Linked DNA regions of Homo sapiens: region 2 is linked to region 1. The links are contacts of gene promoters, found by promoter capture Hi-C in blood cells and fetal thymus (Javierre and others, 2016). All regions are on one chromosome and are shown on one strand. Each heading gives the region's core, a stretch centred on a gene start or on the middle of the fragment in contact. The rest is flanking DNA. Distances are from core to core; before and after follow the strand shown. Region 1 holds the start of ZNF501 (zinc finger protein 501). Region 2 overlaps TCAIM (T cell activation inhibitor, mitochondrial).

Region 1 (3,139 bases), core at 416-2,915:
GCACCAGCATTCCTGATTTGTGTCCAAAAGGGACTCCATTTTGGGAAAACAGCCAATCTGAAGATTGGAATGGATATTTTTTTTTTTTTTTAAGATGGAGTCTGGCTCTGTCACCCAGGCTGGAGTGCAGTGGCATGATCTCGGCTCACTGCAAGTCCGCCTCCCAGGTTCAAGTGATTCTCCTGCCTCACCCTCCTGAGTAGCTGGGATTACAGGGGCACACCACCACGCCCGGCTAATTTTTGTATCTTTAGTAGAGACGGGGTTTCGCCATGTTGGTCAGGCTGGTCTCAAACTCCTGACCTCGTGATCCGCCCCCCATGGCCTCCCAAAGTGCTGGGATTACAGGTGTGAGCCACCATGCCTGGCCTGGAATGGATAATTTCTCTGCTGCATCTCATTAATTTATACAGCAAGTGTTCACTTCTATATGCTGCACACTAGGGATATGATGGTGTGCACACAGCCCTATTGTCCTGAGATTGCAGATCAGTAGGAATGCTTGGAAGTGAATAAGGTACTCTCCACTCATGCCTTTATCTCTGGACTTTACCTGTCAAGATGAGCCCATGTGTGCAAATATTTCCTGAGTTAGAGCCAGCAAGATCTGAAGTTTTGTAGAAAGGGATGGGTGTGCTACCTTGAGGCCCTGAAAGGTCAGTGAAGTCAGGGCAGAACAATAGGTACTGGAGCTGGGATTTGAGACACAGACAATAGTCCTAACATTTACTGAAGATTTAAAAAATACTAGATGTTCTTAGTAATTCACACGTATTAACCTCACTTAATCCTCACAACAACCCTGTGGTACCATTATTATACCTGGTAAGTGAGGAAGCAGGCACAGAGAGGTAAAGTTGCAAAGTTCATACACTGAGAATCAGGGATTTGAGCCCAAAGCAGTGTTTGATTTGTTTTGTTTTGTTTTTGAGACAGAGTCTCACTCTATCACCCAAGCTGGAGTGCAGTGGCTCAGTCTCTGCTCACTGCAACCTCCCCCTCCCAGGTTCAAGTGATTCTCGCGCCTCAGCCTCCGGAGTAGCTGGAATTACAGGCGCCCACCAGCACACCCGGCTGATTTTTGTATTTTTAGTAGAGACAGGGTTTCTCCATGTTGGGCAGGCTGGTCTTGAACTCCTGACCTCAGGTGATCCGCCCGCCTCGGCCTCCCAAAGTGCTGGGATTACAGGAGTGAGCCACCGCGCCTGGCCTGCAGAACTTTTTCTTTTGGCCACCTGAACAAAGATCCTGGGTCAGTAAGGTGTCAGGGGTTTCTGTGAAGAGGTCAGTTTTCTTCCAGATGAGGATGTGTGTGAGGAAGGTGGAAGCCAGTTTTGTGAAAAGCCTTGAGAATCCCCAAAGGACAGTAACATAGGAAGCTAAATGTGGCGGACTTGCAGGATGAACTGATGCACAGTAAGAGCTCCTTGTGGTCGACCCTTCTGACTTCCATCCCGTTTCCCTGTGCTGGAAGACGCACGCCAGGTGGGGTCGCAGGTTGTTTCTGGTGCCGGCTTAACCGGCGCAGCACCGAAACCCGTAGCTGCGTGCGGGAAGGAACCACCGAGCGGAAGCCGCTCCCACCTTCCTAGAGAGGAGACGGTAGTGGTTATTAGCCGAGGCGCGGACTGCTGACGTCACGCCGGCTGGGCGCGTCCGGGACTTACTCCTTTCCGCAGGGCAGCACCCAGGGACCTGAGTGTTGCAAGGTGCGAGAGGGGAGCGCCGCGGGGAGCGCCGCGGGAAGCGCATGGTGAGCGGTTTCTGCTGTGCCCGGCTGCCGCGGGTCGATTCCAGCTCCTCCCTCGGGAAGCAGGGCGTTTTTCTTCCTGGAGGGCCTGTGGAGCGGAGGCCCGAGGCCTAGGGCAAACTTGCCATGAAGAAAGGAGAGGCTGTTCGAGAGCCCTAGGCTGGGAGTCGGAGGACCTGGGTTCGATTTATACATACTTAAGCATGTCAGTGAACTTCTGGGCACTTTAGTTTTCTGATTTCCAGAAGTAAATACTGTTTCCTGCCTTGCCGTTTCCCAAAGTTGTGCGGGTTGAAGTAAGTATATGCAAGAATTAGTGCCTTCCCTTCATTATTTATTCTTCTCTAACAACAACAAAATAGGTACCGTATGAAGACATGTAGACTCAATACTTTAACAGCAGGCACTATTTATTGAATGCTTACCAGCTGGCATTCTTCTAAGTAGTTGCCATGTAGTAACCCACTTATTCATTACGACAACCCTATAAAGTAGTTACTGGTATCGTCTCCATTTAACAGTTGAAAAAACTGGAGCAAAAAAAGGTTAGGTAACTTGTTCAAAAGTCCTAGTCCTGGAGCCCATGCCATACTTGTAAGTTTGCTGGTGGAAGACAGAATGTAATCAGACTAGAAAGTCCTACAGTAGAAACTTGTAAAATTCTTTGAGAATGTAGACGAGGAAGGGCCTTGGAAAAGTCAAAATTTTCCCACAAGGAAGAGGTGTGAAGTTTCACATTTGAGCTAAATATTAAAGGTTGACTGCAAGCTTGAAAATAATTGCTGGCTTATTTGACCAAATGAGGAAATAAAAGAGACGTTTGAAAATAATTAAACAGTTTGTTCAGTGTCAGTTAAGAGATGCTAGTGGATTGGGATGTATTAGACAGGAAACCAGGTTCCTGCCTTTGAATACAGTGTTCTTTGCATTAGGAGGGTTCTTGAAACCTTTCCCTTATGAAGAGTCCTTAACATCTTACAGCAGATACTCCTTACACAAAGGCAATCCTCTTGTTATTTTCGAGAAATTCCCCCAATTCTAATTGTAGGAGGATAACTGACAGGAAGTTTCCCTGCTGTTGATTCAGCCCGTTCTTAACAAGACCCATTCACCTCACGGCTAGCTCATTTAGTACTTTTCAAATAAATGAATAAACAGATTCAATCAAAGATGGACTGGAAGGGCTTGATTTGAGGTTTTTGCTCTTTTCCCATCTGTATATAGAATCAAAGCTTTGTAGAATGTTGATATTACAAGAAGCTTTAAATATTATCTAGCTTTTCAATTTCATTTAACAAATAAGAAATGGATGAGACTGAGTGACCTGTGTTAGGTCATTGAACAAATTGGTGGCAGAGCTGAGACTAGAATCCACACCTCTTGACTGAG
Region 2 (3,139 bases), core at 392-2,891, 390 kb before region 1:
TTCTAATCTAGGAGTAGCTTTATTTATCAATCAAATTTTTTTTTAAAAGACTTGGAAATCTCTAGCTTTTTCGTTTATCCTAGCACATTGCCAGATGGTTTGATGAAGTGGAAAATGTAGCCAGACTTGAACCCACTAAACATCTGCTTCTTAAACCAAAAGAAAGAAATACCAGGAGATTTTTTTTCCTTAAGGTCTTTACATATCACTAAAGCCTTTTTTTTTTTTTTAAATTGTAGAAAGCCTACCTCTGATCACTTCAAATCAGTAATATGTTGGGGGTAAAGTGCATATATAAGTCTTTCCCCTATTGACCAATTGCATATAAGCTGATTCACATTAAATAAACATTTTAAGGCTGGACACAGTGGCTCAGGCTTGTAATCTCAGCACTTTGGGAGGCCGAGGAAGGAGGATCAGCTGAGGTCAGGAGTTCGAGACCAGCCTGGCCAACATGGAGAAACTCCATCTCTACTAAAAATACAAAAATTCGCTGGGTGCGGTGGCAGGCGACTGTAATCCCAGCTACTCGGGAAGCTGAGGCACGAGAATCGCTTGAACCTGGGAGGCAGAGGTCGCAGTGAGCCGAGATCATGCCACTGCACTATAGCGCAGGTGACAGAGCGAGACTCTGTCTCAAAAAAAAAAAAGAAGAAATGTTTTGGTGTTACAACAGACTTTTCTTAACCATCTATGTTATTTAAGAGATGAGGAAACAGACTCCAGAAGGTAACGTAACTTGCCCTTGCTCACACAGTCACTGAAGATGTCAAGATTTGAATACAAATCTCAAGCCCCCTAGCCTCCATTTCCTAACCATTATGCAAACTACCTACTTTGACAGTCACATTCACTGGAAGTGTTTAGATCAGCACAATCCAATAAAAATAGAATGTAAGCCTTGGATATAATTTAAAATTTTCTAAAAACTAGATGTTTTACTTTTTAAAAAGTAAAAGTGAAATTAATTTTAATAAATTATAATTTCAACACATAACCAATATGAAAAATTATTACTGAGATACTTTCCATTGTTTGTACTGAATCTTTTAAATCCAGTGGGTATGTTAAGCTTAACACATCTCTATTTAGACTAACCACATTTCAAGTGCACAGTAGCTACATGTGGCTAGTGGCTGCCTACTGTTTTAGACAGCAGAGGCCTAGATTGTAATTCTATTACTCTACTGAAATGTAAACCTTTTTAGGAAATAGCTTGCTCACAAAATAAGCAGATAGAAAACACCTAATTCTCAACCTGTCATTTTTTTAGTGCTCTCTTTCTAAATCTGGAAACCATGATTTAATGTTTAGATTTGTATTTGGTAACATTTTATTTTTGTTGAGAAAATCTATTGTCACATTTCTAAGCACTAATGTCCTTTATTAGTCATTTCTCAGTAGTAGTTTAGTTATACTCTGTGATTACAAAGCGATTAGTGGATGAATGTATTTTTCTGGATAACTAAAGACCTTGAACTTTACACAAATTTTATTTTGCTTTGATTATTTTTGATGGAAATGCTTTTTTTTTTTTTTTTTTGAGAGAGTCTCACTCCATCACCCCGGTTGGAGTGCAGTGGTGCAATCTCAGCTCACTGCAAACTCCACCTCCCAGGCTCAAGGCCTCAGCCTCCCAAGTAGCTGGAATTACAGGCGTGTGTCACCACACTCAGCTAATTTTTGTATTTTTAGCAGAGATGGGGTTTTGCCATGTTGGCCAGGCTGGTCTTGAACTCCTGCCCATTTTCACCTCCCAAAGTGCTATGATTACAGGGATGAGCCACCATACCGAGCCTCAGAAATGCTTCTGAAATGCTTCTGAAATGTGCTACATAATTCCATCTTACACACAACATACTTTATCCTCCATGATTAAAAGTCATTAAGGATACTATCTTAGTCTTCAGCTGCTGTGTCAAACTATCATAAACCAGATAGCTTAAAAACAACAGAAATATATTTCTTGCGGTTCTGGAGTCTGGGAAATTCAACATCAAGATGTCTGCAGATTTGTTGTCTTGCTATAACTTCACATGGTAGGGGGCAAGATAGCCCTCTGGGGCTTTTTTCTTTTTCCTTTTTTGTAATTTTCCTTTTTTCTGATAGTTTTGATCAGAGGACAGGACTTTTTATAAGGGCACTAATGACCTTATTACTGTCACACGCGTCCGTGTGAAGAGACCACCAAACAGGCTTGGAGAGAGCAATGAAGCTTTTTATTCACCTGGGTGCAGGCGGGCTGAGTCCAAAAAGAGAGCAGAGGGAGTTAGGGGTGGGGTAGTTTTATAGGATTTGGGTAGGTAGTGGGGAAGATTACAGTCAAAGGGGATTGTTCTCTTGCGGGCAGGGGCGGGGGTCACAAGGTGCTCAGTCGGGGAGCTTCTGAGCCAGGAGAAGGAATTCAATTCACAAGGTATTGTCATCAGTTAAAGCAGGAACCGGCCATTTTCACTTCTTTTGTGATTCTTCAGTTACTTCAGGCCATCTGGATGTATACGTTCAGGCTTGGGCTCAGAGGCCTGACATTCCTGTCTTCTTACATTAATAAGAAAAATAAAATAGTGGTAAAGTGTTGGGGCCCTGAAAATTTTTGGGGGTGGTATGGAAAGATAATGGGCGACGTTTCTCAGGGCTGCTTCGAGCAGGATTGGGGCGGCGTGGGAACCTAGAGTGGGAGAGATTAAGCTGAAGGAAGATTCTGTGGTAAGAGGTGATATTGTGGGGTTGTTAGAAGGAGCATTTGTTGTATAGAATGATTGGTGATGGCCTGGATACGGTTTTGTATGAATTGAGAAACTAAACAGAAGACGCAAGGTCCAAATAAGAGAAGGAGAAAAACAGGTATTAAAGGACTTAAGAATTGGGAGGACCCAGGACATCCAACTAGAGAGTGCCCAAGGGGGTTCAGCATAATTACTTGCTTGGTTGGCAAGTTTTTGGGCTCTATCTTTGAGTTTTTTTATGTTGTCATATACCAGGCCAGATTGATTTAGGTAAAAACAACACTCTTCGTTTAATATACAGAGTCCCCTTTTTTTTTAGCAGTGACTAACGAGTCCTCCACGATTTTGGAGGAAAGAGAAATACAAAGCCAGCAATTGTTTGTTAAAGAAGGATTAGAAACGGCTAGGAGAGA

What was found. The method cuts DNA at HindIII sites, captures the fragments that hold promoters and counts their contacts. A CHiCAGO score of 5 or more calls a contact.
Region 2: a contact is called between a fragment that was not itself captured here and the fragment with the promoter of ZNF501 in region 1, in 5 of 17 cell types (naive B cells, total CD8 T cells, naive CD8 T cells and 2 more). The highest score is 7.1, in naive B cells.

The regions. Positions count from the first base shown.
Region 1 is chr3:44,727,970-44,731,108 of GRCh38, forward strand. It overlaps ZNF501 (zinc finger protein 501), which reads left to right and starts at 1,666. Exons shown (of 3, transcript NM_001258280.2): 1 at 1,666-2,046. LOC105377056 (a long non-coding RNA gene) reads right to left here and starts at 1,557. Exons shown (of 3, transcript XR_940788.4): 1 at 823-1,557. RefSeq lists an enhancer at 1,477-1,546. The HindIII fragment of the contact is 3,071 bases long and covers 1-2,516 here.
Region 2 is chr3:44,342,499-44,345,637 of GRCh38, forward strand. The region is part of intron 1 of TCAIM (T cell activation inhibitor, mitochondrial); the gene reads left to right. Among named protein-coding and RNA genes, the nearest start is that of TCAIM, 5.3 kb to the left of the region's middle. The HindIII fragment of the contact is 1,143 bases long and covers 1,071-2,213 here.